Regions from separate parts of the Homo sapiens genome. Here regions 2, 3 and 4 are each linked to region 1. Evidence: promoter capture Hi-C in 16 types of primary human blood cells and fetal thymus (Javierre and others, 2016). All regions are on one chromosome and are shown on one strand. Each heading gives the region's core, a stretch centred on a gene start or on the middle of the fragment in contact. The rest is flanking DNA. Distances are from core to core; before and after follow the strand shown.

Region 1 (5,928 bases), core at 1,121-3,620:
AACAATATTTGAACCAATTCTTGGGTCTCCTGTTGGATGTCTTCCCATGGTTTGCCCAGGACACTCTAGTGGGTGTGAAGATGTCATATTATACTGGACTGTGAAGCGAGAAGGTGATATTTAAGCCACTAAAGCTTGTGGCAGCCACCAAATTTTCCAATGCCTTCTGCAATCTTGCATTTAACTGGCTTCACCGCCATTCCCACCCCCACCCAGTGGGAAAGGCTTTAGGAGCATTTGGTCAGGTGGGGGTGCTGTCAGGGTTTACGGTTCACCTTCAAGGAAGCCCTGGGTGCGCTGACTCCGGGGTGGGGGGCACCTGGCAAGGTAGCGGGGACCCCCGTAGGCCCGGAGAAGCTGGGGCAGCCTTTGCCACGTGGACAGCAACCGCGCTGCTGCAAGTTCCCGGGCGTGCCCGTCGAAAGCGGCCAGGAGGTCAACTGGGGCGGCTTCCCTCAGTGCCTTGGGCAGGGGACCCACCTCGGCAGCCGCCCCACCAGGGCCCAGGACGCAGTGGAAGAGCGTATGGCGTCGCAGCAGGCAGTCCCTAAGGAACTGCACCAACTCCTCCAAACACCTTCCCAGGTGCTCCTCGTCCCAGCCTTGCCCAGGGGCCCCCTTGCGCAGCAGCACTGCCAGCAGCACTGTCTTGAGCACATATGAGGATAGGATGCGTCCCCACTGGGTGGCGGCCGCTGAGTCCAGCCCACGGGCCCCCAGATCGCGCAGAGCCTTAAGCAACTGCAGGCACTTGAGGTAGCAGGCACCTGGAGCTGCCCGTTCCTGCAGCCAACTCAGCAGCTTCTGCTCCTGGCGTGCTGTGTTCACACCCCACAGTGCCTCCGCACGCAGGCCCTCAGGGAGCTCCAACAGGGGCGCGCTGGGCAAGGGTGGCGGTGGTGGCGCCACAAGGAAGACCCCATCTCCCAGATGGACAGCGGGGATGAGACGCACAGCCATAGAAAGGCGGCAGCAGCCGTAGTCAGTGCGGCAGGGCAAGATGTGTAAGGTGGGGGGCTGTTCCAGGCCACCTGGGGTCAAGGTGACCCGACAGCGCCCCTCCAGGCTGTAACGCACAGTGGCCAAGGAGCGCTGCAGATGCGACTGGAACCAGCGCAGCACCAGAGTAGCAGAGAGGTGACGCCGCCCGCGCACATCCACGCAGAAGGCATCAGCAAAGGGTTTGCAGTCCCGAAGCCAGTGGCCCCCCGAGGCCCCCGATGGTGAGGGTGGTGCCTTGAGGGCGCACAAGAAGCAGCCGCGGAAGGCCGGGGCCAGCGCTGGCTCCTCGCCCAGGCTCCGTGGCTCCAGCGCCACAAGCGGCGGGAGGCGCAGTGGCACCAGCACGTCGAAGCTGTCGGGCCGGCGGATTTTATGTTGCTCGTAGGCGCTGCCCACCTGGATGAAGTCTCCGCGGAAGGCCAAGGCCAGCGCTCCCCCAGGAATGAGACCGGGGGACCCCCGGGCGCGGCCAGCCCGCACCAGCTCGCCCACGATCCGGCTCACGTGCGCCTTGCTGTGGCCCAACACGTGCGGAGACAGGCGCACCTCATGCTCGTAGTAACTCTCCAGCAGGATGCTGAGGCCCGGCTCTCGGAAGTGTCTCGAGGAGAAGGCGGCGTGACCCTCCAGACGGGGAGACCCGGGCAGGAAGCGCTGCCGGACAGCGTGGCGACAGCGCAGGAGGACATAGCTGAGGAGGAGCAGGACGGCCACCTTAAGCAACGGGAAGCCGCCATCCACGCCGTCGGCGGGCTCGGCCCGGGCGCCCCCGCTTCCCCGCAGGACATGGTAGAGGCACACCAGGGCGGTGCACAGGCCGGTCACCAGGGGCCAGAAGACGCGTAGATTGAGGGTGTAGTGCACCGACATGCCGGGCGCCCGGGGCGGCGGTGGCCGAGCAGCCCAGGGGGCAAGCCCCGGCGGCGACCCAAGCCCAGCATGCGCACAGCGCCCGGGCAGCCCCGCTGTCCCCGTCTCCTCCTCCGCGGCGGCTTCCCGAACGCAGGCCCGAGGGAGGCCGCCCTCCAGCTCGGCCTCCTCTCCCAGCTCAAGTGTTCCTTCCAGCTGCGGCCCGCCCTGCGCTCTCGGGCCCCGGGCCGCGCCCTGCCCCGGCTGCGCGCTGAGTCCGGCCCAGCGGCCCTCCCCGCCCGGCGCCCCCGCGCGCCGCCGTCGGCCAGCTTCTGGCCCGGCCTGGCTCGCCTCCTACCCTGGGCGGCCCTCCTGGCTCTCCCGCCGCTCCTCTCCGCGCCTGACCCTGTTACTCGGACCCCGGGAGTTTCCTCTTCCGAGGGGGAGGCGAGGCCGCGCCAGCTAGCGGGGAGGAAATGCCGGAGTCTGGAGCCGAGCGTGGAGCTGGCGAGCCGGGTCGGCCCCCTCCCGGGCCTCCGCCTTAAAGCGACGCGGGGCGGCGGGAGGGACTTCAGGACGCTCTTGGAACTGGCCTCCCGCGGCCCACCCCCATCCTCCCTCCCCGAAGGCAGAATTGGGAAGGCCCTGATTCCGGGGCGGTAGCTTCGTCCAGGGAGCCTCTGGAGTTGCGCTCCCTTGAAGTTATACTGGGACGTTGAAAAGGAGAAAAGGGCGCACAGCCAGACTGTCCAGTCCTCCCCACCCCCACCGCACAAGCTGCGGTGGCGTGGCAGGCCCTGGCACAGGAGTGGCCCTTGCCGTCTGCCGCAGTCGTCTGTTCAAACCAGTATTCACCGAGCACCTACCATGTGCCAGGTCGGAGCCACAGTGCTGGGGAAATCATAGTTGACAAGATGGACAAGGTTTCTGTCCTTCGTGAAGCTTACAGCCTTGTAAAAATGGGAATCAAAAAAGGAAGGGGCTGGGCGCAGTGTCTCACGCCTGTAATCCCAGCACTTTGAGAGGCCGAAGTGGGCGGATCATTTAAGGTCAGTAGTTCGAGACTAGCCTGGCCAACATGGTGAGACCCCCCCCCCCGCCCCCCATCTCTACTAAAAATACAAAAATTAGCCAGGCGTAGTGGCACGCGCCTGTAATCCCAGCTGTTCGGGAGGTTCAGGCAGGAGAATCGCTTGAATCCGGGAGGCGGAGGCTGCCGTGAGCCGAGATCGCGCCACTGTACTCCAGCCTGGGTGACAGAGTGAGACTCCGTCTCAAAAAAAAAAAAAAAAAAAAAAAAAGTGGGGGGAAGGATTCCACAGCAAGAAAACGCTCTAAAATAAACAAAAGTGCCCGAGGGAGTGAGAAGGTGCTGGCTACCCTGTGGAAACCAGAGGATGACAGGGGTGACATTTGGCCTGAGACTTCATCGGAACATGCTGGTTCACCCCTGTAATCCCAGCACTTTGGGAAGCCGAGGCGGCGAGAAGATCGCTTGAGTGAGGCCAGGAATTCGAGGCTGCAGTGAGCTATGATAGCATCATTGCACTCCAGCCTGAGTGACAGAGCAAGACTCTTGTCTCTGAAAAAATAAAATAAATAAAATGAAATGAAATTAAAATAAAATTATTTTCCCAGTGGAGGAAAGGGGCACAAACAGGTTCAGCTCAGGCAGGTTCAGCTGCCCCCCTTCCCCCCTCCCCCACAAGGTTACACAGCCTTTGTAGAGCTGGGCAGAAACCAAGGGGTGGAACTCCCAGGAGGGGGCCCAGGGAAGGTCTCTTCCTCATCTGCTGGGAATTTTGGGGGTCCTTTGTCTGGGTCTACATTGGAACCTCAGTCCTAGGAAGCTTGTTTTGTTTCATAACAGGGAGCACTTCCTGAAATAATCTGATCTATTTAAATAATTGTCTTTCTTTATTCACACTCATTACACCTTCTTTGCTGGCACTGACCTTTAAAGAGAGCAAGGGTGAATATATTAAAACATGTTAGAACCCAGCTGCCACCTGGGAACCAGGACTCAAAAGATGGCTTCTGGGTTGTTCCCAGTAAATCCTAAATTGGGCCCCTGAGAGCTAAGCAGATCTGCCTTCAGATCCCATCTACTAATATTAGCTATGAGATCATCATCTACCAGTCAAGATTCTTAGGTTTGCAAGTGACAGAAACACAGCTCCAACTGGCTTAAGTGCACGCACGCATAGACACACACACACACACACATTATTGTATCATGTTAACTGAGATCCATGAGGGGATTTCAGGTACAGCTGAATCTAGGTGCCTCAATGCTATGCAGACCTGTTCTCCCTTCACTTCTTAGCTCTCTGCTTTTTAAGTGGGCTGTCCTCCCCACAGGTCCTCCATATGCCCTTGGCTGCTGTAGTCTCACATTGTCTTCAGTGCAGAAGAAAAGAGAGCCTTTCCTGTTTTTGTTTGTTTGTTTGTTTGTTGTTTGTTTGTTTTAAAGACAGAGTCTCACTCTGTTGCCCAGGCTGGAGTGCAGTGGCACGATCTCAGCTCACTGCAACCTCCACCTCCTGGGTTCAAGTGATTCTCATGCCTCAGCCTCCTGAGTAGCTGGGATTACAGGCATGCGCCACCACGCCTGGCTAATTTTTGTATTTTTAGTAGAGATGGGGTTTCACCATGTTGTCCAGGCTGGTCTTGAACTCCTGACCTCAGGTGATCTGCCCACCTCAGCCTCCCAAAGTGCTGGGATTACAGGCGTGAGCCACCGCGCCTGGCCAGAGAGGCTTGCTTTTCTCAAAGTTGTGGTAAATGCCATGACTTGGGATAGTTTTGGGTCATATGCTAAAGTCACCAAGCAAGGGAATGCACTGATTAGCATTGCCCAGGTAGTGCCCCCACCAACTCCAATCCAAATCTATGTTGAAACCTTAACGGCCAATGTGACTGTATTTGGAGATAGGGCTTTTCGGCAGTAATTTAGGTTAAATGAGGTCAGAAAGATAGGGTCCTAATCTGATAGGATTGGTGACCTTATAAGAGGAAGAAAGAGAGACGGCTCTCTCTCCATGTGGTTGGACCAAAGAAAGACCATCTGCAAGCCTGGAGAAAAGCCCTCACCAGAAGCGGAATGCTACCAGACCTTGATTTTGGACTTTCTAACCTCCAGAGCTATGAGAAAATAAATTTCTGTTGTTGGAGCCACCCAATCTATGGTATTTGTAGAGGCAGCCTGAGCTGACTAATACAGTTGGGTACCCAGCCCTGGAACCAAGAGGTGGAGTCAGCCCTGTTCAAACTGTGGGAACTGTGGGAAGGGGTGTCTCTCCCCCAAGGAAAGTCATGTTGCTGCGGCTGGAAAAAGATGGATGAGATGTTTTGACATGCAGAGATGACAGCTGGCCACCTCTTTTGGATAACTCTCTTAACCTATCTTTGCTTCTATCTCCCGATCTATAAAATGGAGTGCTACCAACAGAGTGGTTTATTTTTCCCCTGGCAGATATAGTGGTATGCTATCTCCAACTATACAAATAATGGCAATGCTCTAGGTCAGAGTTAGCAAACACTATTTTTTTTTTTTTTAAAGAAATAGGTCTTGCTCTGTTGCCTAGCCTGGAGCACAGTAGCACAATCACAGCTCACTGCAGCCTTGAGTTTCTGGGTTCAAGGGATCCTCCTGCCTCAGCCTTCCAAGTAGTTGGAATTACAGGCATGCACCACCACACCTAGCTAATTTTTAAATTTTTTGTAGACATGGGGTCTCACTATGTTGCCCAGGCTGGTCTTGAACTCCTGGCCTCAAGCGATCCTCCTGCCTTGGCTTCCCAAAGTGCTGGGATTACAGGCATGAGCCACCGTGCCTGGCCTGGCTCACACTTTTTGTAAAGGGCCACAGAGTAAATATTTTAGGCTTGGGTGTCATAAAATCTCTACTATAACTACTCAGGTCCACTGCTGTAGCCCCAAATAGCTGGGTTTGGGGCTGTTGCTTGGCAAACTTCGGCTTGCATTAGGTTGGTGCAAAAATAATTGCGGTTTTTGCCATGACTTTTGTTACTAATAGCTGCATTCCTCTACCTCTGTCTTTTTTTTTTTTTTTTT
Region 2 (5,928 bases), core at 2,513-5,012, 430 kb before region 1:
TAATTTAGGTTTGTTGTAAATGTCTAGAAAGCAGTATAGTTAAAGCACAACATTTGGAAAGTATTTTTAAATGGATCACATAATTTTTAAGTGAGCTTAATCAAAGTGTCTTAACAAAGATACCTAAAAAATATTAAAGCATTTGGTTAAGAGCTTTGAATTTGCTCAAGAATGAGTTTGTCTTCTTGCCACCATAAACAGAATTTTAAAATACAGTTTTTAGTTTAGCTCTTAATCCTCAAATAATGAACATAAGGAGAGATTTAGCTCAAGCTTTGGACTGAGCAAAATATGAAGCCCTCCTCCCACTGGCATATTCACATGTGATCTTATAGTCTGAGGGAGAAAGTTTATCCCCTTATGTGCAGATACACTTCCCCAAGCTGAACAGACAATGCACAGACTTAGCACCAGAGATGATCGTTATCTTTTATTCATTAAATAAAAAGGTTTTCTGAATTAAGCATGGCAAATTCTACAATTTTTTCAGAATGAAAAATACAAGGTGCTTTCCACAGAAATATTATAGAAATGAAGACTGGAATCACACTTTTACTAAGACTTCCTGACTGCCATACAATGCTAAGACCAAAGAACACTAATAAGATGACTGTGAATATGCCAAAATTATGGTGGCAAGGAAAGACAATCTATTCCACTTCTATGGCCTGAGTTATGGGGCAGCTTGTGCACTTCCTTCTATTGAATGGGCTTCAGGAATTTATTTTCTACAAACCTGAAACAGGCACTCTGTTAGGCACTCTGCTCTGTGAAGGCTTCTGTCTATTTTGCACAACCCCCTTCACTGATGTCTTAGGGGTTCTAATTGAATATAAAAAAATTAATAAGTCACTGGCATTAAGGTCTAAATGTTCAAAATTCAAAGAAAGCAATCACATTGCATCAACTGTCCAAAGCACAAATAAGCTTGAAAAGAACTGAAGTCTCATGCATGCGCACAGTAAGGAAAGCTAAACTCTGGCTTCAGCAGGAGACTATAAGCACGAGTCATACTCTGTTGGAGAATCACTTCGGTGATGCTGAATTTACTATATGGATATTTAAAATACTTTATGAGTAAAATGGTATGAAATGAAAAGTAAAAACATCCCAACTTAAGACAGTAATTAGAATACACAACAGTACACCAAGAGGGTTACATTTGAAGACAAAACTTTAAAATATCTTTCCCAATGCTATAAAGAAAAAAAATCCCATTGAAAAACCATTATCCTTTACATAAAGAACACTAGATTTATTTTTCCCTCTCAAATCTAATCTTGGTTTCCGTAGTTTTCAATACCCGTGTGTGGCATTCTTACCCTTGTCTACTAAGTAGCCTATGAACAGGTGCATTCTGTCCTTGGTTTGGCTGAAGGACTCTGTTGACAAATTAAATGAAAAATTAATTTAATAGGTTAAATTCCATTTTTTCCCATTTTCTTTCAACGGATGAAAGATGATGACTGTAAGGTAAAGGTCAACTATGCAATAATATGGCCTATATATTACCACAAATCAGAGCAAATCGACTAAAGCATATTAATATGATACTTGTATTTTGCTCACTAAGAGTCCAAACCTTAGGTTTTTATCAGCAAAGAAATGTCCAACATATAGACTAACCCTTGTGCTTTTAGATAATTTTCTTATACATATGCTTTACAAAAGCTAACTTTTCCCTTCAAACCAGTGAGAGAAGAAAGTATCACTCTCATTTTACAGGAGTAAAAAACAGGTCAGAAATATTAAAGTTCGCTTTTTAGCTTTATTTTTTATTTATTTATTTTTTTGAGATGGGTCTTACTATGTTACCCATACTGGTTTGAATTTCTGGGCTTAAGCTATCCTCCTGCCTCAGCCTCCCGAGTACCTGGGACCATAGGAGCATGCCACTGTGCCCAGCTTAAGTTAGCTTTTTTTTGAGACGGACCCTTGCTCTGTCGCCCAGGATGGAGTACAGTGGTGCAGTCTCGGCTCACTGCAACCTCCGCCTCCCAGGTTCAAACAATTCTCCTGCCTCAGCCTCCTGAGTAGCTGAGCAGGCACGCGCCATCATACCCGGCTTTTTGTATCTTTTATTTTTGTATTTTTAATAGAGACAGGATTTCACCATCTTGGCCAGGCTGGTCTTGAACTCCTGACCTCGTGATCCACCCACCTCACCCTCCCAGACTGCTAGGATAACAAGCATGAGCCACTGCTCCCAGCCCAGCTTAAATTAGCTTTCTAAGGTTTTTAAATAAGTATCAAAGATCCTCTGGACTGTCTAACTGAACTCAAGACATACCACGCTCAAAATTTCTACCACAGATAGCATGTCCTACAAAAGGTCCGGGCACATCTGGTCTGACATGTGACTAGGTATATGGCCAGGTATTGGTATGAATCTTGAGCCTGAGGACGACCCCCGACCCAATTCAGCAAGAAGTGCTCTACTGATGTCAAGTAGAACAAAGTCAACAAAAATGAAGTTTGGGATTTAAATTTTAATTTTTTAACTTTTTTTTTTTTTTTTTTTGAGATAGAGTTTCACTCTTGTTGCCCAGGCTGGAGTGCAATGGAGCAATCTTGGCTCACTGCAACCTCTGCCTCCCGGGTTCAAGCGATTCTCCTGCCTCAGCCTCTTGAGTAGCTGGGATTACAGGCATGTGCCACCACACCCAGCTAATTTTGTATTTTTAGTAGAGATGGGGTTTTCCATGTTGGTCAGGCTGGTCTCAAACTCCCGACCTCAGGTGATCCATCCGTCTTGGCCTCCCAAAGTTCTGGGATTACAGGCGTGAGCCACCGTGCCCAGCCAATTTTTTTTTTCTATAAAAAACAAAAAGCCTCTCATTAAGACTAAGTGATTTTTCTCACCTTGTTTCAGAAGGATTTTGTTTAACCAGAAATTTCTTATTTGGCATTCCCATTTCAGCAGCTCTAACACAATATAAAAATAAGGACATAATGTATTTAGAGAAGGGAAGAAAACATGCTTACAAATGTAATACAGGATGACAGAAACAAATCATCATTTAGAAGCTGGTGTACTACTGGAAGACCTGTACTAAGCATATTAAAGACTGCATTCAAGAAAGAAGAATTTTTTAAAAAAGTTATTAAGATATTTTTCCCATTAAGTCTTTATTCCCAAGAAACCTTTAGGACATCAGAAAAGGAATATATTTAGGCACTGAATATAAAGATTAACTGTTTTTAAGATTAACCAGCTATCAGTTATATGAGTTGAATGTTGTCAAATTTAGTAAATAAATTCATCTAAGATGAAATGAGATTTTAGCACCTGATTTTAATAAATTTCTTTATATAAAGGGGATTTCTATCAGCTCAACTGCAGAAAAATTAACTCTTTATTTCTAAATTTAAATATGCAAATAGACCAACAGATGACTAAAATTAATTGGTTTGATAACTAACATGACATGATACAAAAAACTTACTTCATGTATTTCTTCCTATCAAGAGACTTCTGTGTTGCAGCTGAAAGAGCCACTCGTGGACTTTTCATTTTATCCTTTAATATACAAAAGTAACGTCAAACTCTACTGGAACCAATTAATACCACTATATTATAATGTATTATAATCCCACATTGCCTGGAAAAGCTTCTCTCTACTAACATTTTTAATTTAGTTAAATCATCTTGTTTTGTATTTTTGAAGCAGTCTAATTCTAAGAATTAAATAATTAGAATTATGTAAATTTTGCTTGCTTTTCCTTTGCCAATCACACTAAGATAACTGATTCAAATCACATACTCTGATATACTTCAAATTAACTTGGAGCCTGTTTTCTAACTCAGATTTCAAAAAAAGCAAAACCCACATTATAATTGAATTCAAGGAAATTCAATCAGGAGCAGCTGATAGATTGTATAAGCCATCTGAGCAAAACATTCAAAGCTTCAACTCTAAAATCCAATAAGAAAACAATATGTAATTCTTAAATGATGTAATTCTTTTAAATCTGTCTACAGATTTAAATGCTGCTAGTAATTCCAGGAATTACTTGTGCTTAAGAATTATCAGAAGAAGGGTGCTGAAGTCAACCAAAACTGACATTTAGTATCAATTACCCTAAACCCAGAAGAACTCTATTCATTAGAAATCATATAACATACCATTTGCCTGAGCATTTTCTCTTTGCGAACTTCTCGATCATGATGTAGAATAGACATTCTTTCAGCTGCATCCATTACAAAGAATATGTCATGAATACCGTACAAGGCAGCTCGCAACTAGGCACAAGAGAAGAAAATATTGTATACATTTAAAAGATGAGGTTAGAGTTCAGGAATACTATATACCATGTACACTTATTTATAGAAAAAGATTAAAATAGTTTTCATTGAAACCTATTTTCAGTGATTAAATAAAAAAGGAGAAATATAATATGTCCATGTCTTAAAAGCCTTCAGGATCCATGTATTTACCTGAGCTAACACTCTTTCCTGAAGTGAAGCATCTTGAGCTGAAACAATGCCTCTCTTTAATGGTGCTTCTGACTGAAAACTTCTTATGAATTCCATAGTATCCTGAAAAAAGAAATGCTCCTTCAAAAACATTTTTCTAGAAAGATTTGTGATCACTGGAGTTTGCTTTTTTCTTTTTCTCAGTCAATCCAAAATTACAGTCTTTCGTCAGTATCTGTGGGGGACTGGTTCCATGAATCCCTCAGATACCAAAATCCAAGGATGCTGGAGTCCCTTATATAAAATAGTTATCTGCATATAACCTAAGCACATCTCCCATATACTTTAAATCATCTCTAGATTAGTTAAAATACCTAATAAATGTACATGCTATGTAAATAGTTGTTATATTGTTTAGGAAATAATGACAAGGAAAAAAAATTTGTACATGTTCAGTACAGACACAACCATCATTTGTTTTTTCTGAATTATTTTTGATCCATGGTTCGTTGAATCCACAGATGTGGAACCCAGAGATAGAGGACCGACTGTACTAAGAACATAAATAAAACTATTACTTATCAGAAGTCAAACCACTCACTTTCAAGCAAGTCAAAAACACACAAACTGCTTCATTTACATGTTATTCATAATATTATCTGAGAAAGATTAACGATTATTGGGGGGACCAGCCCCCAATATTTCAACATAGGTTCTTTCTATTTTTCATAAGTGTCAGCCAGATGAGAAATAAAGAGAAAGAGTACAAAGAGAGGAATTTTACTGCTGGGCGTCCGAGGGGGACATCACATATTGGTAGGACCATGATGCCCACCTGAGCCTTAAAGCCAGCAAGTTTCATTAAGGATTTCAAAAGGGGAGGGGGTGCAAGAACAGGGAGTAGGTCACAAAGATCACATGCTTCAAAGGGCAAAAAGGAGAACAAAGATCACATGCTTCTGAGGAAACAGGACAAGGGCAAAATCAGAACTACTGATAAGGGTCTATGTTCAGCTGTGCACGTATTGTCTTGATAAACATCTTAAAAGGAAACAGGGTTTGAGAGCAGAGAACTGGTCCGACCACAAATTTACCAGGGTGGAATTTCCCAATCCTAGTAAGCCTGAGGGTACTGCAGGAGACCAGGGCATATTTTAGTCCTTATCTCAACCGCATAAGACAGATACTCCCAGAGTGGCCGTTTATATACCTCCCCCCAGGGATGCATTCCTTCCCCAGGGTATTAATTATTAATATTCCTTGCTAGGAAAAGAATTTAGCAATATCTTCCCTACTTGCACGTCCGTTTATAGGCTCTCTGCAAGACGAAAAATATGGCTCTATTTTGCCCGACCTCGCAGGCAGTCAGTTATGGTTGTCTTCCCTTGTTCCCTGAAAAACGCTGTTATTCTGTTCTTTTTCAAGTTGCACTGATTTCCTATTGTTCAAACACACATGTTTTGCAATCAATTTGTAGAGTTAACACAATAGTGGTCCTGAGGTGACCTACA
Region 3 (5,928 bases), core at 2,490-4,989, 400 kb before region 1:
TAGAAAAGGCTCAATAAATAATAGTTTTTGTTTTTGTTTTTGTTTTAGTACAGAAAGAGACTGAGGAAATTAGGTCAAAATATTCACATATGTTAAATCTTTTTTACTGTAGATGTTTGCAATAGACCATGACTTAAAATATTTTTTAAAAAATTAAAAATCTTGATCATAGCTGGGCACAGTGGCTCACACCTGTAATCCCAGCACTTTGGGAGACTGAGGCAGGAGGATTGCTTGATCTCAGGAGTTCGAGACCAGCCTGGACAACATGGTGAAACCCCATCTCTACAAAAAATACAAAAATTAGCTGGGCATGGTGGCACGTGCCAGTAGTCCCGGCTACTTGGGAGACTGAGGTGGGAGGATGGCTTGAACCCAGGAGGCGGAGGTTTTAGTGAGCCGAGATCATGCCACTGCACTCTAGCCTGAACAACAGAGCCAGATCCTGTCTCCAAAAAAAAAAAAAAAGAAAGAAATCTTCATCGTAATGAGCATTTCACATCTTTATTGTGATGAGGAAGCCAAGGAAGCAAACATTAAATAGTGTGTCTCCAGAGGAGCATGGCTCGTGTAATTTAAGGTTCAAATTCTCTTTTTAGATAAATTCTAATCTACCTCATCAAGCTTAACAACTTATGGGCCAACAGCCAGTGCTGCTTACATAAACAAAATGTGATATGTCCTAGAAGCAGGCGTGGTGTCTTTGTGGTAGAGGGTGGAATTAAACCAACAAAAACCTGACTCATTTATGCCAAAGTAGTGAAATATCTGACTAATCAACAACCGTAGGGTGATCATCAGAACTGCTGTACCAACAAATAGTGTAGGTAAACAGTGGAATTGTCTAAGTATTCATAAGCCATTGATGACCCATATAGTTAAACATCCAGAGAAAACATAAGTTCCTGAAGTCTCCTAGTCTTCCACTGTGAAAGTAAGAAGAGTGGGAAAATTAAAGTTTTTAAGGAATCCATCAGTTAGGAATTGAAGTAAGGTTATATACACAGAAAACAGAAACAGATCAGGATTGCTGTTTGGTGGGGGAAGTGGAAGGAAAATGAATCAAAAAGGACAGCTGTCTTAGGAGCCCTGCTGGTCTTTTGGGTGGTTAGATGCAAAATAATGTTTGTGGCCATTTGACAGTAATATTCTTGATGTTTTTGTTAAGGCAGCTAAGAATGGAGCAACAGGCGTGGAGTTGGACATTGAGTTTACTTCTGACGGGATTCCTGTCTTAATGCACGATAACACAGTAGATAGGACGACTGATGGGACTGGGCGATTGTGTGATTTGACATTTGAACAAATTAGGAAGCTGAATCCTGCAGCAAACCACAGACTCAGGTAAGTAGTTTATTGTCACTTAAACAGATCTTTTAGCTTTTATTGGAAATGACAGACACTGGTGCCTTCTAATTACATCTGCCCCAGGAGAGTTGTCTTGTTTTGTTTTGAACTGTACGTAGGTCTTGTAAGTAATGAGCAAGTGCCAGGAACAACAGAAATTTGGCATTATGTTTTTAATCTTTCCCACTGAGGCTAAATTTGGCTTCAGAATTATTGTCAAGATAATACTGTCTAGTCATAGAATCATGAGGCTGAAAGTCATTGCTTGGCAATCTTCTTGCCTTCAGGTGTACCAAGAAGCAAATTATACATTCATTAAAAGCTTCAAGTAACATTATAATATCACATTTTAACTTAACCCATTTAATTCTTCTGATCCTCATAACAAACTTCTGAGGAATCACAGAATTGTAGGAATAGAGAGTATCCTAGAAATCATCTAGAATAGCACTTTGCAGTAGAACTTTCTGCAATGATGGAAATATTTTATATCTGCACTGTGTAATATGGTAGGTACTTGTGGCTATTGAGCACTTGATATGTGGCTAGTGACACGAGGAAGTGAATTTTTAATTTAAATGTAAATTTAAACTGAAATAGCCATGTGTGGCTACCATATAGGATACTACAGATCTAGATCAATCTTGCCTTTAGATATAATCCCAGAAAAGTTAAATTATTTACTCAAGGGCAAATAACTAGTTCATAAAGAAGCCAAAACTAGAATCTATCCCAAGTTTTAGTCCAAATCATGCTGTTTTTAGCTGCCCCCAATGTCTTTCAACCCTGTAAGAGCAAAAGTTCTTTCAGTGTCTAATTTAATTCCTTCCTGGTAGAGTGTAAACGTAGCTTCCAAAGTATATACACTAGAGCTAATCTTACAAGATGTTCTGCAAAAACAGGGTTCAAGTAAGATCAAACAGTGTATTCTGAATACTTCTGTTGTGGATAAACAGTCCACATCAGCTGATTCTTACTTGTAACTTAGCTTTTCTCAAACTTACATGATCACAGAACCTACATCCTCTTCCCCACTTACAGCGGTAAACACCCTTGGAATTGGTATGCTGAGTAATATACTGTACTTTGGAATGTGGTTATTTAAATCCCTCTCTGCTTGTCATCTTTGCAGTACTGAAAAGGGTGTGCTCACTGGTTATTCATGTAATATCAATTATCCAGACAATGATCGATTCTCTTGGAAAATTAAGTATTTGACCCAACAGTTAAGTTATACTTTTTCCTAAAAGATGATCCAGACCTGTTTTCCTAGGATCTGAAAAACATTAGTCTGCCGAAGGAAGTCATACTGTAGGCAGGAAAGAATATTGGTAACACTTGAGAATTATGAGTCCAAGTTGCTAGAATTGTTCTTGAGTGTCATCAGATACTGTATTGCTCTGCTTATGCAAGGGAAAGGCTGGTTTGAATATTATAATGACATTGCAGCTAATAAAATGTCAGGTTCAAAGTTAATACTTAAAGCAAAAATGTTTAGGGTCATCATTACCCTTAAAAATCCTTTAAGGGAGCACTGAGTCCATTTCTCTGGAATTTGTGCATCCTAGGAAAAAAAATTGTGATTTTCAAAAAATCCCTTAAGAAGACAGCAAAGGCAACATATTATCTCAGTGTCTTTAACACAACCAGTCTTTGCTCCACTATTGGAACAGAGTGTGTTCTATGATTGAAAACTAAATGAAGTAATTGGCTTGTGTTTACGGATTATGTTGTGGGAAAAAATAGATATTTTCTCTAGAATTATGCTCAGTGTGATGAGATGCTTGTCCTGAGAGGAGGATAAGGAGGAAACTAAGATCAGCCAAAGGAATAACAAATTCAGGTCTCCCATCTTTCACTCTCAGGGAATAGAAATTGATTAGAATGGCTGGGATAATTGCCTGTAATGTTTAAATTATCCTTATCTTTTTTTTTTTTTTTTTTGAGTTGGAGTTTCACTCTTGTTGCCCAGTTTGGAGTGCAATGGCATGATCTTGGCTCACTGCAACCTCCACCTCCCGGGTTCAAGTGATTCTCCTGCCTCAGCCTCCAGAATGCTGGGATTACAGGCACATGCCACCACACCCAGCTAATTTTTGCATTTTTAGTAGAAACGGGGTTTCGCCATGTTGGCCAGGCTGGTCTCGAACTCCTGACCTCAGGTGATCTGCCTGCCTCAGCTTCCCAAAGTGCTGAATTTACAGGCATGAGCCCACTGTACCTGGCCTATCCTTACCCTTTTTTAAAAGCATGATCTTACAGTTGAAATAATGCAGTTGAATTAGCATTAAGTTAAATAATAATTTTATTATGAGAGAAAAGCTAATTTCTTTTGTATCAAGCACTTAGTTTTCATTTTCTTTATCAGAAAATTATGTCTTAGAACATTATTTATTTTAAACAGTTGCACTTAAATAAATACACAATACAGTTAACAGATTTATGTATTCCTAAGAATTCCTCCTGCATAGCATTCTATTAGGGAAATTACAATCTGAAAATTAAGTCTTTGAGTTTTCCAAAGGTGGCATATACTCTGCCCTTTGGGAAGTAGGGTTATTAATAATGTTATTAATTCAATAGAAATTCAGTGATTTCTTAAAAATTAAATGATTTTTGTTGTTGTTGCTGGTCTTTGGTCAAGAATATCTGTATTTGAACACATGGAGGTTCCTGAATGATGGAGCACTCAGAAAGGGCATGGAAGCTCTATGCCCCTTTCCCCATACCTCACCCTATGCATGTCTTCATCTGTATGCTGTGTAACATACTTTATAATAAACCTGTAAACGTGTTTGAGTTCCGCAAGCCACTCTAACAAATTAATTGAACCCAAGGAGGAGGAGGTGGGAACCCCAATTTATAGCTAGTGTCAGAAGCACAGAATTACCAGAAAAGGAAAACAAATCAAAACAAAACAAAACAAAAAACAGAAAAATAACATCCATTATACAATATAAGAAACCAAAGACCATCAATCTCTAATCTCTGTGCTCAGGTGTCTGTGTGCTTCAATTCTTCTCATCTACGAGTCTTGGGTTTTCAATGCTCACTTGTCACCAGGATATGAATTAAAAATGTCTTGGGCACCACCATGTGGTCCAGTTGTCTTAACCTTTCTAAAAGTGCTTGTGCAAACCATTTACTTGTTGCTTCTTACACAATTACAGCCCAACCTACTTGTGTTTAAAAGCAACCACAGCATGTTTGAAAGTCTTATGCAATAAAAGGGAAGTTTATGATTACATTTAGTCTGTACTTACTGGATACTTTCAGTTTTATCAGTTCCAAGTACAGCAAACTCTGGATAATATGGTTAATTACTTCCTCCATGATTCTTTCGACCTTCATATCAATTTTGCTAAATATGGAATGATTGACTAGCCAGAGCAATCAGGAAAGAGAAAGAAATAAAAGGCATCCAAATTGGAAAAAGAGGAAGTCAGATTGTACCTCTTTGCTGACAACATGATTTTGTATGTAGAAAAACCTAAAGACTTCACCAAAAAACTGTTAAAACTGATAAACAAATTTAGTAAAATTGCAGGATATAAAATCAACGTACAAAAATCAGTAGCATGTCTATACGTAAATAATGAACTAGCTGTAAAAGAAATCAAGAAAGTAATCCCATTTACATAGCTACCAAAAAAAAAATAACAAAATACCTAGGAATAAATATAACCAAAGAGGTGAAAGAGCTCTTACAAGGAAAACTACAAAACACTGATGAGAAAACTTAAGAGGACACAAATGGAAAGACATCCCATGCTCATGGATCAGAAGAATTAATATTCCTAAAGTGACCATTCTACTCAAAATAATTTACAATTCAGTGCAATCCCTATCAAAATATCAAAGACATTCTTCAGAGAAATAGAAAAGCAACAATCCTAAAATTCATATGGAACCGTAAAGAAGCCCAAATAGCTAAAGCAATACTGAACAAAAAGGACAAAGCTGGACATATCACACTACCTCATTTCAAGATATACTACAAAGCCACAGTAACCAAAACAGCATGGTATTGGTATAAATACTGACACACACACACACACACACACACACACACACACACACACAAAACAGATACATAGACCAGTGGAATACAATAGAGAACCAAGAAATAAATCCATATATTTACAGCCAACTGATTTTCCATGAAGGCACCAAGAACATTACAGTGGGGGAAAGGAACTCTCTTCAATAACTGGTACTGGGTAAACTGGATATCCATATGCAGGATAATGAAACTAGACCCCTATCTCTCACTATATTTAAAAAATCAACACAAAATGGATTAAAAGTTTAAATTTAAGACCAGAAACTATAAAACTACTAGAAGAAAACACAGGGGAAAAGCTCTGGGACATTGATCTAGGCAAAGATTTTATGGCTAAGACCTCAAAAGCACAGGCAACAAAAACAGGCAAATGTGACTATATTAAACTAAAAAGCTTCTGCACAGCAAAGGAAATAATCAACAGAGTAAAAAGAAAACCTGTTGAATAGGAGAAAATATTTGCAAACTATTCAACAGACAAGTAACTAATATCCAGAATATACAAGGAACTTAACAGC
Region 4 (5,928 bases), core at 1,454-3,953, 260 kb before region 1:
TGGGCAGAATTCTGCCCTTTGCAGCTATAGGGATGGAGCCCTGGTTTTCCGTCCGGCCATCAGCCAAGGGCTGTTGTCATCTTCTAGAAACTTCCACATACTGTGTTCCCCTCCTCCATATTCTGAGCCAGCAGTGACTGGAGGCGTCTTTTGCTTATAGCATTTCTCTGACCCACTTTTCTGCCTCTCCTTTCTATTGATAAGGACTTGTGTTATTAGATTTGGTCCAATTGGGTAATCTAGGATAATCTCCCACTTTGAGATCCATAATTTTTTTTGAGACAGGGTCTCGCTCTGTTGCCCAGGCTGGAGTGCAGTGGCACGATCTCAGCTCTCTGCAACCTCTGCTTCCCTGGTTCAAGCAATTCTTGTGCCTCAGCTCCTGAGAAGCTGGGATTACAGGCACCCACCACGACACCCAGCTAGTTTTTGTATTTTTAGTAGAGATAGGGTTTCACCATGTTGGCCAGGCTGGTCTTGAACTCCTGGCCTCAAGTGATCTGCCCACCTCGGCCTCCCAAAATGCTGGTATTACAGGTGTGAGCATTGCACCTGGCCTGAGATCCATAACTTAATCAAATGGGCAAAGTCTCTTTTGCCATGTAAGGTAACATATTCTTAGAAATTTGGGAGAATTAGAACGTGTCCATCTTTGGGATGTGTAGTTCTACCACACCTCCTCCCACCCTCACCTGATCATTTTCATTCAGCTCCACATGATGACAGGAGAGAGGATTCAATCTGGCAAAAGATGCGAATATTGACTTTCATATGTGTATAAGGACTCACATTTATTGAGTATTTATTATGTGCCAGACACATTTTAAGCACGTCACAGGCCTCATCTTATATAATTCTCCTAGAAGTAAATGTTATTATTTTGTAACCAAGTAATATGGTTTGGCTGTGTCCCCACCCAAATCTCATTTTGAATTGTAACTCTCACAATTCCCACATGTCGTGGGAAGAACCTGGTGGGAGGTAATTGAATCACGGGGGGCGAGTCTTTCCCATGCTGTTCTCACCATAGTGAATAAGTCTCACAAGATCTAATGGTTTTAAACGGCAGTTTCCCTGCACAAGCTCTCTCTTTTTGCCTGCTGCCATCCATGTAAGACGTGACTTGTTCCTCCTTGCGTCACACCATGATGGTGAGGCCTCCCCAGCTGCGTGGAACTGTAAGTTCATTAAACCCTTTTTCCTGTATAAATTACCCAGTCTCAGGTATGTCTTTATTTGCACCATGAAAACAGACTAATACACCAAGGAAACTGAAGCTTAGAGTGGTTAATAAATCTCTTTAATGTCACACTGCTACTATTAATAGATTTGTTGTAAACTTGGGATTTATATTCATACAGTCTCATCCTTAATCAATTAGCTATGCTGTCTCTTTAATAAATATAATAATATCGATGACAAAATGTTATTAGAAGGTTGCACTTGTATATTAAAAAAACTCAGTAAGCAGTAATTTCAAGAAATTGGAGATAGCTAGGGATGATGGCTCATGACTGCGATTCCCAGCACTTTGGGAGGCTAAGGCCAGAGGATCACTTGAAGCCAGAAGTTTGAGGCCAGCTTGAGCAACATAGCTGTCTCTACAACAACTACAACAAAAGTTAGCTGGGCATAGTAATGCATGCCTATAGTCCTAGCTAGCCGTGAGGCTGAGGTAGCAGGATTGCTTGAGCCCAGGAGGTTGAGGCTTCGGTAAGCCGAGATCATGCCACTGCACTCCAGCCTGGGCAACAGAGCAAGATTCTGTCTCTAAAAAAATAAAAAATTGCAGAATTAAACATATTTCCATATTTATTTACAGTCAAATACATTGTAACTCAAAGAGAAAGTGGTTATATGTTGAAGGGCACAAAGCAATTTGACGTCCTAGATAGAAACTTAGTGTCTTCAGACTAGAAGGGTCTTGAAATGGTAATTTTTTTCTCTCTTTGCATTTGGGTAGGACCTCATATAACCCAACCTAGTGAGAAAATCTGGCTTTGGGGAAAGTGGTGTGTTTTGGTGACAGGAACATAGTTTCAACTTGGTTTTCCTTTTTAGAATTATTTTTACTTGTTTTAGAAATAGTGATGGGGTCTCACTATGTTGCCCAGGCTGGTCTTGAACTCCTGAGCTGTAGGGATCCTCCTGCCTTGGCCTCCCAAAGCGTTGGGATTACAGATGTGAGCCACTGCACCCGGCTTCACCTTAGTTTTCTAATTACACATGAAAGGAGTTGTTCTTTTCATTTTCTCTTGTATTCACAAGACTGTGCTGAAGCAGCCAGCTGCCCTTATTGCAGCCTGAATCCTGATTTTTACCCTGTGTCCAGCCCTCCCTGTGTGACTGCAGGGCAAATTCTGATTGGTCTCAGCCTGTTATGGTGGTGCCTGGGCTTAGCAAGGGGTGTTAGGTTCTGGTCAATGAGGCAGAGTCTACTGGGCAGCTTCTGGAAATGTTTTTTTAGTCTTAAAAAAGAGACACACAAAGAAGAAACAGCTCCTGCTCTCCATCCCTGCCTGACCACAGTGTTTGGAAGTGCCCATATCAGGTCAATCAGAGGAGGAGACCCCAAAAATGGCCAAGTATGAAGATGGAAGGGCTTGACTTGGTTAAGCCACTCAACCAATTGGCCCTGGATTCTCTCTGCTGCCTGAATTCTTTTTTTTTTTTTTTTTTTTTTTTTTTTCTAAATTTTAGACAAGGTCTCACTCTGTCACCCAGGCTGGAGTGCAGTGGTGTGATCTCAGCTCACTGCAGCCTTGAACTCCTGGGCTGAAGCAATCCTCCCACCTCAGACTCTCAAGTAGCTGGGACCACAGGCATGTGCCAGCACACCTGGCTAATTTTTGTATTTTTTTGTAGAGATGGGGTCTTGCCATGTTGCCCAGGCTGGTCTCGAGCTCCAGAGTTCAAGCAATCCACCCGCCTCAGCTTCCCAAAGTGCTGGGATTACAGGCATGAGCCACTGAGCCAGACCTTTCCTTTCCTTTTCTTTTTCTTCTCTTCTTCTTCTTTTTTTTTTTTCTTGAGATGGAGTCTCACTCTGTTGCCGAGGCTGGAGTGTGGTGATGTAATCTTGGCTCACTGCAACCTCCGCCTCCTGGATTCAAGTGATTCTCCTGCCTCAGCTTTCCAAGTAGCTGGGATTACAGGTATGCACCACCACACCTGGCTAATTTTTTTGTATTTTTCATAGAGACGAGGTTTTACCATGTTGGCTGGGAGTTCAGACCTCCCAAAGTGCTAGGATTATTACAGGCGTGAGCCACTGAGCCCACAACCTTTCCTTTTCTTTTTTGAGACAGGGTCTCACTACATTCCCCTGGCTGGTCTCAAACTCCTGGGCTCAAATGATCCAATCCTCCTGACTCAGTCTCCTGAGTAGCTGGGATTTCAGGTGCGCACCACTGCAGCTGGCTCTGGATTCTTACACTTAGGCCATTTTTGGCTGGAGTTTCTCTTATTAATACTTGCAGATGGCAGCACCCCAACTGAATCACACAACACTAGTTTCTCTCTGTTTTATTCATGGGTTATACTTTGTCTCAAAACCAGAAATGGCATTAAGTCCTCAGTTTTCTGTAATGTCCTTTTTCTGATCCTGGATCCCATCCAGAAACATGACATTGTACTTAGTCCTAATATCTCCTTAGGCTCCTCTTCATGGTGACAGTCGCTCAGACTTCCCTTGTTCTTGGCCTTTTTGACAGTTTTGAGGAGTGCTGGACGGTTATTTTGTAGAATGTTCCTGAATTTGGTTTTGTCTTATGTCTTTATTATCATTAGGCAGAGGTTATGGGGTTTTGGGAGGAAGACCTCAGAGGTAAAGTGCCTCTCTCATCGCATGTCGAGGGTGCCTACCATCAACGTGACGGGTCACTGTTAATGTGGACCTTCATCACCTGGCTGAGGCTGGGCTTACCAGGTTTCTCCACTGTACGCTCACTCTGCCTCCACCCCTTTCCATACTGCATGCACTCTTTGGAAGGAAGACACCGTGTGCTGCCTACACTTAAGGAATGAGGCATTATGTTCCCCCAACTCTTGAGGACAAAGTGTCTGCATGAATTATTTGGAATATTCTTCCACATGGGTGATTCGCCTTCTGCCATGATTGGAAGCTTCCCGAGGCTCTCACCAGGAGCAGATGCCAGTGCCATGCTTCCTGTACAGCCTGCAGAACCATGAGCTAGTTTTCCTTATTTGTTTATGAAATCATTTATTTAAACCGAGCTTGGTGGCTCATGCCTCTAATCCCAGCACATCGGGAGGCTGAGGCGAGAGGACTGCTTGAGTCCAGGAGTTTCAGGCTGCAGTGAGCTGTGATTGCACCACTGCACTCCAGCCTGGGTGATAAAGCAAGACCCTGTGTCAAAAATAAAAGTAAAAATAAGATAAAAATAGATCAATCATTTATTTGTATCAGTATGGACTCAGGAGTTCTTTTGAGTTCTAATCTAATATAACTTTATGTTTTGGGGGGCTTTTTGTTGCTCAGATTATTCTAGTTTTGGTTACTGAGACCCTTTTAGTTGGCATCTGTCTCCCTTTGGCATACCCCACCATTGTGGGTTGTGTGTGTGTGTGTGTGTGTGTGCGCGTGCGTGCATTTCCTTCCTTTCTGGCACTACAAGATTCTTCAGGCTTGTCTTTTATATTTCCTGGTTGATATACTTTGGATGTGTGTCCCCTTTACATCTTATGTTGAAATGTGACCTCCAGTGTTGGAGGTGGGGCCTGTTGGGGAGGTGGGAAGTGACTGGATCACAAGGGCGGATCCCTCGTAAATGGCTTAGTGCTATCCCCTTGGTGATGAGTGAGTTCTCATTCAGTTCACATGAGAGCTCGTTGTTTAAAGGGATCCTGGCTCTTCCCTCTGTCTCTTGCTTCTGTTCTCACAATGTGATACATCAGCTCCCCCTTTGCCTTCTGCCGTGACTGGAAGCTTCCCGAGGTCCTCACCAGAAGCACATGCAGATGCCATGCTTCCTGTACAGCCTGCAGAATCATGAGCCAATTAAGCCTCTTTTCTTTATAAATCACCCAACCTCGGGTACTTTTTTACAGCAATGCAGAAATGGACTAACACACTGGCCCTGTCCTAGAATCAGCTGCCTCTCCAAAGAGCTCTGTGCTGGTTAATACTAAATGCTAACTTGATTGGACTGAAGGATGCAAAGTATTCATCCTGGGTGTGTCTGTGAGAGTATTGCCAAAGGAGCTTAACATTTGAGTCGGTGGGCTGGGAAAGGCAGACCCACCCTTAATCTGGGTGGGTACCATCTAATCAGCTGCCAGTGTGGCCACGACATAAAGCAGGCAAAAAAACCATGAAAAGGCTAGACTGGTCTAGCCTTCCAGCCTACATCTTTCTTCCATGCTGGATGCTTCCTGCCCTCAAACATCAAACTCCAGGTTCTTCAGTTTTGGAACTTGGACTGGCTCTCCTTGCTCCTCAGCTTGCAGATGACCTACTGTGGGACCTTGTGATTATGTGAGCAAATACTTAATAAACTCCATACATGTGTATGTATATATATATATACCATCTGAATGACAGTACACTAAACAGGACTTTGTACTAATGTCTCTAACTCAAATCCGTTTCCACGTGGATCATTTTAGTCATCTCTACTTGCTTATCTGTAATCTCCCACCCCAACAATGAAAACATTAGCTTCCATCATTGCTAATCTAGGTGAGTACCATCTAATCAGCTGCCAGCATGGCCAGGATGCTTCCACCATTGAATGTGTCCCCCAAAGTTCATGTGTTGGCAACTTGATCCTCAACATGGTGGTGTTGGGAGGTGGGGCCTAATGGGAGGTGTTTGGGTCATGGGGGCCCTGCCCTCATGATAGAGTAATGATAGAATGGATTCCTTATAAAATAATAAATTGGGCTCTCTTTTGGCTGTCTGTTACC

Evidence for each region. Contacts are between HindIII fragments. The CHiCAGO score rates a contact against its expected background, and 5 or more counts as called.
Region 2: a contact is called between a fragment that was not itself captured here and the fragment with the promoter of ITPRIPL2 in region 1, in 1 of 17 cell types (M0 macrophages). The highest score is 5.5, in M0 macrophages.
Region 3: a fragment that was not itself captured here is called in contact with the fragment with the promoter of ITPRIPL2 in region 1 in 3 of 17 cell types (monocytes, M1 macrophages and M0 macrophages); the score reaches 7.5 in monocytes.
Region 4: a contact is called between a fragment that was not itself captured here and the fragment with the promoter of ITPRIPL2 in region 1, in 5 of 17 cell types (M1 macrophages, endothelial precursors, monocytes and 2 more). The highest score is 7.9, in M1 macrophages.

Annotation. Positions count from the first base shown.
Region 1 is chr16:19,110,406-19,116,333 of GRCh38, reverse strand. It overlaps ITPRIPL2 (ITPRIP like 2), which reads right to left and starts at 2,370. Exons shown (of 1, transcript NM_001034841.4): 1 at 1-2,370. The coding sequence starts at 1,872. The coding sequence ends at 265. RefSeq lists silencers at 1,809-2,178, 2,269-2,368. The HindIII fragment of the contact is 2,659 bases long and covers 137-2,795 here.
Region 2 is chr16:19,543,409-19,549,336 of GRCh38, reverse strand. It overlaps CCP110 (centriolar coiled-coil protein 110), which reads right to left. Exons shown (of 14, transcript NM_001323572.2): 9 at 4,439-4,540; 10 at 4,127-4,243; 11 at 3,447-3,520; 12 at 2,863-2,925; 13 at 1,323-1,382. Among named protein-coding and RNA genes, the nearest start is that of VPS35L, 9.3 kb to the left of the region's middle. The HindIII fragment of the contact is 297 bases long and covers 3,614-3,910 here.
Region 3 is chr16:19,512,430-19,518,357 of GRCh38, reverse strand. It overlaps GDE1 (glycerophosphodiester phosphodiesterase 1), which reads left to right. Exons shown (of 6, transcript NM_016641.4): 2 at 1,169-1,344. Among named protein-coding and RNA genes, the nearest start is that of GDE1, 6.7 kb to the left of the region's middle. The HindIII fragment of the contact is 4,135 bases long and covers 1,672-5,806 here.
Region 4 is chr16:19,367,902-19,373,829 of GRCh38, reverse strand. All of the region lies in intron 1 of LOC105371114 (a long non-coding RNA gene), which reads left to right. Among named protein-coding and RNA genes, the nearest start is that of LINC02858, 37 kb to the right of the region's middle. The HindIII fragment of the contact is 2,847 bases long and covers 1,280-4,126 here.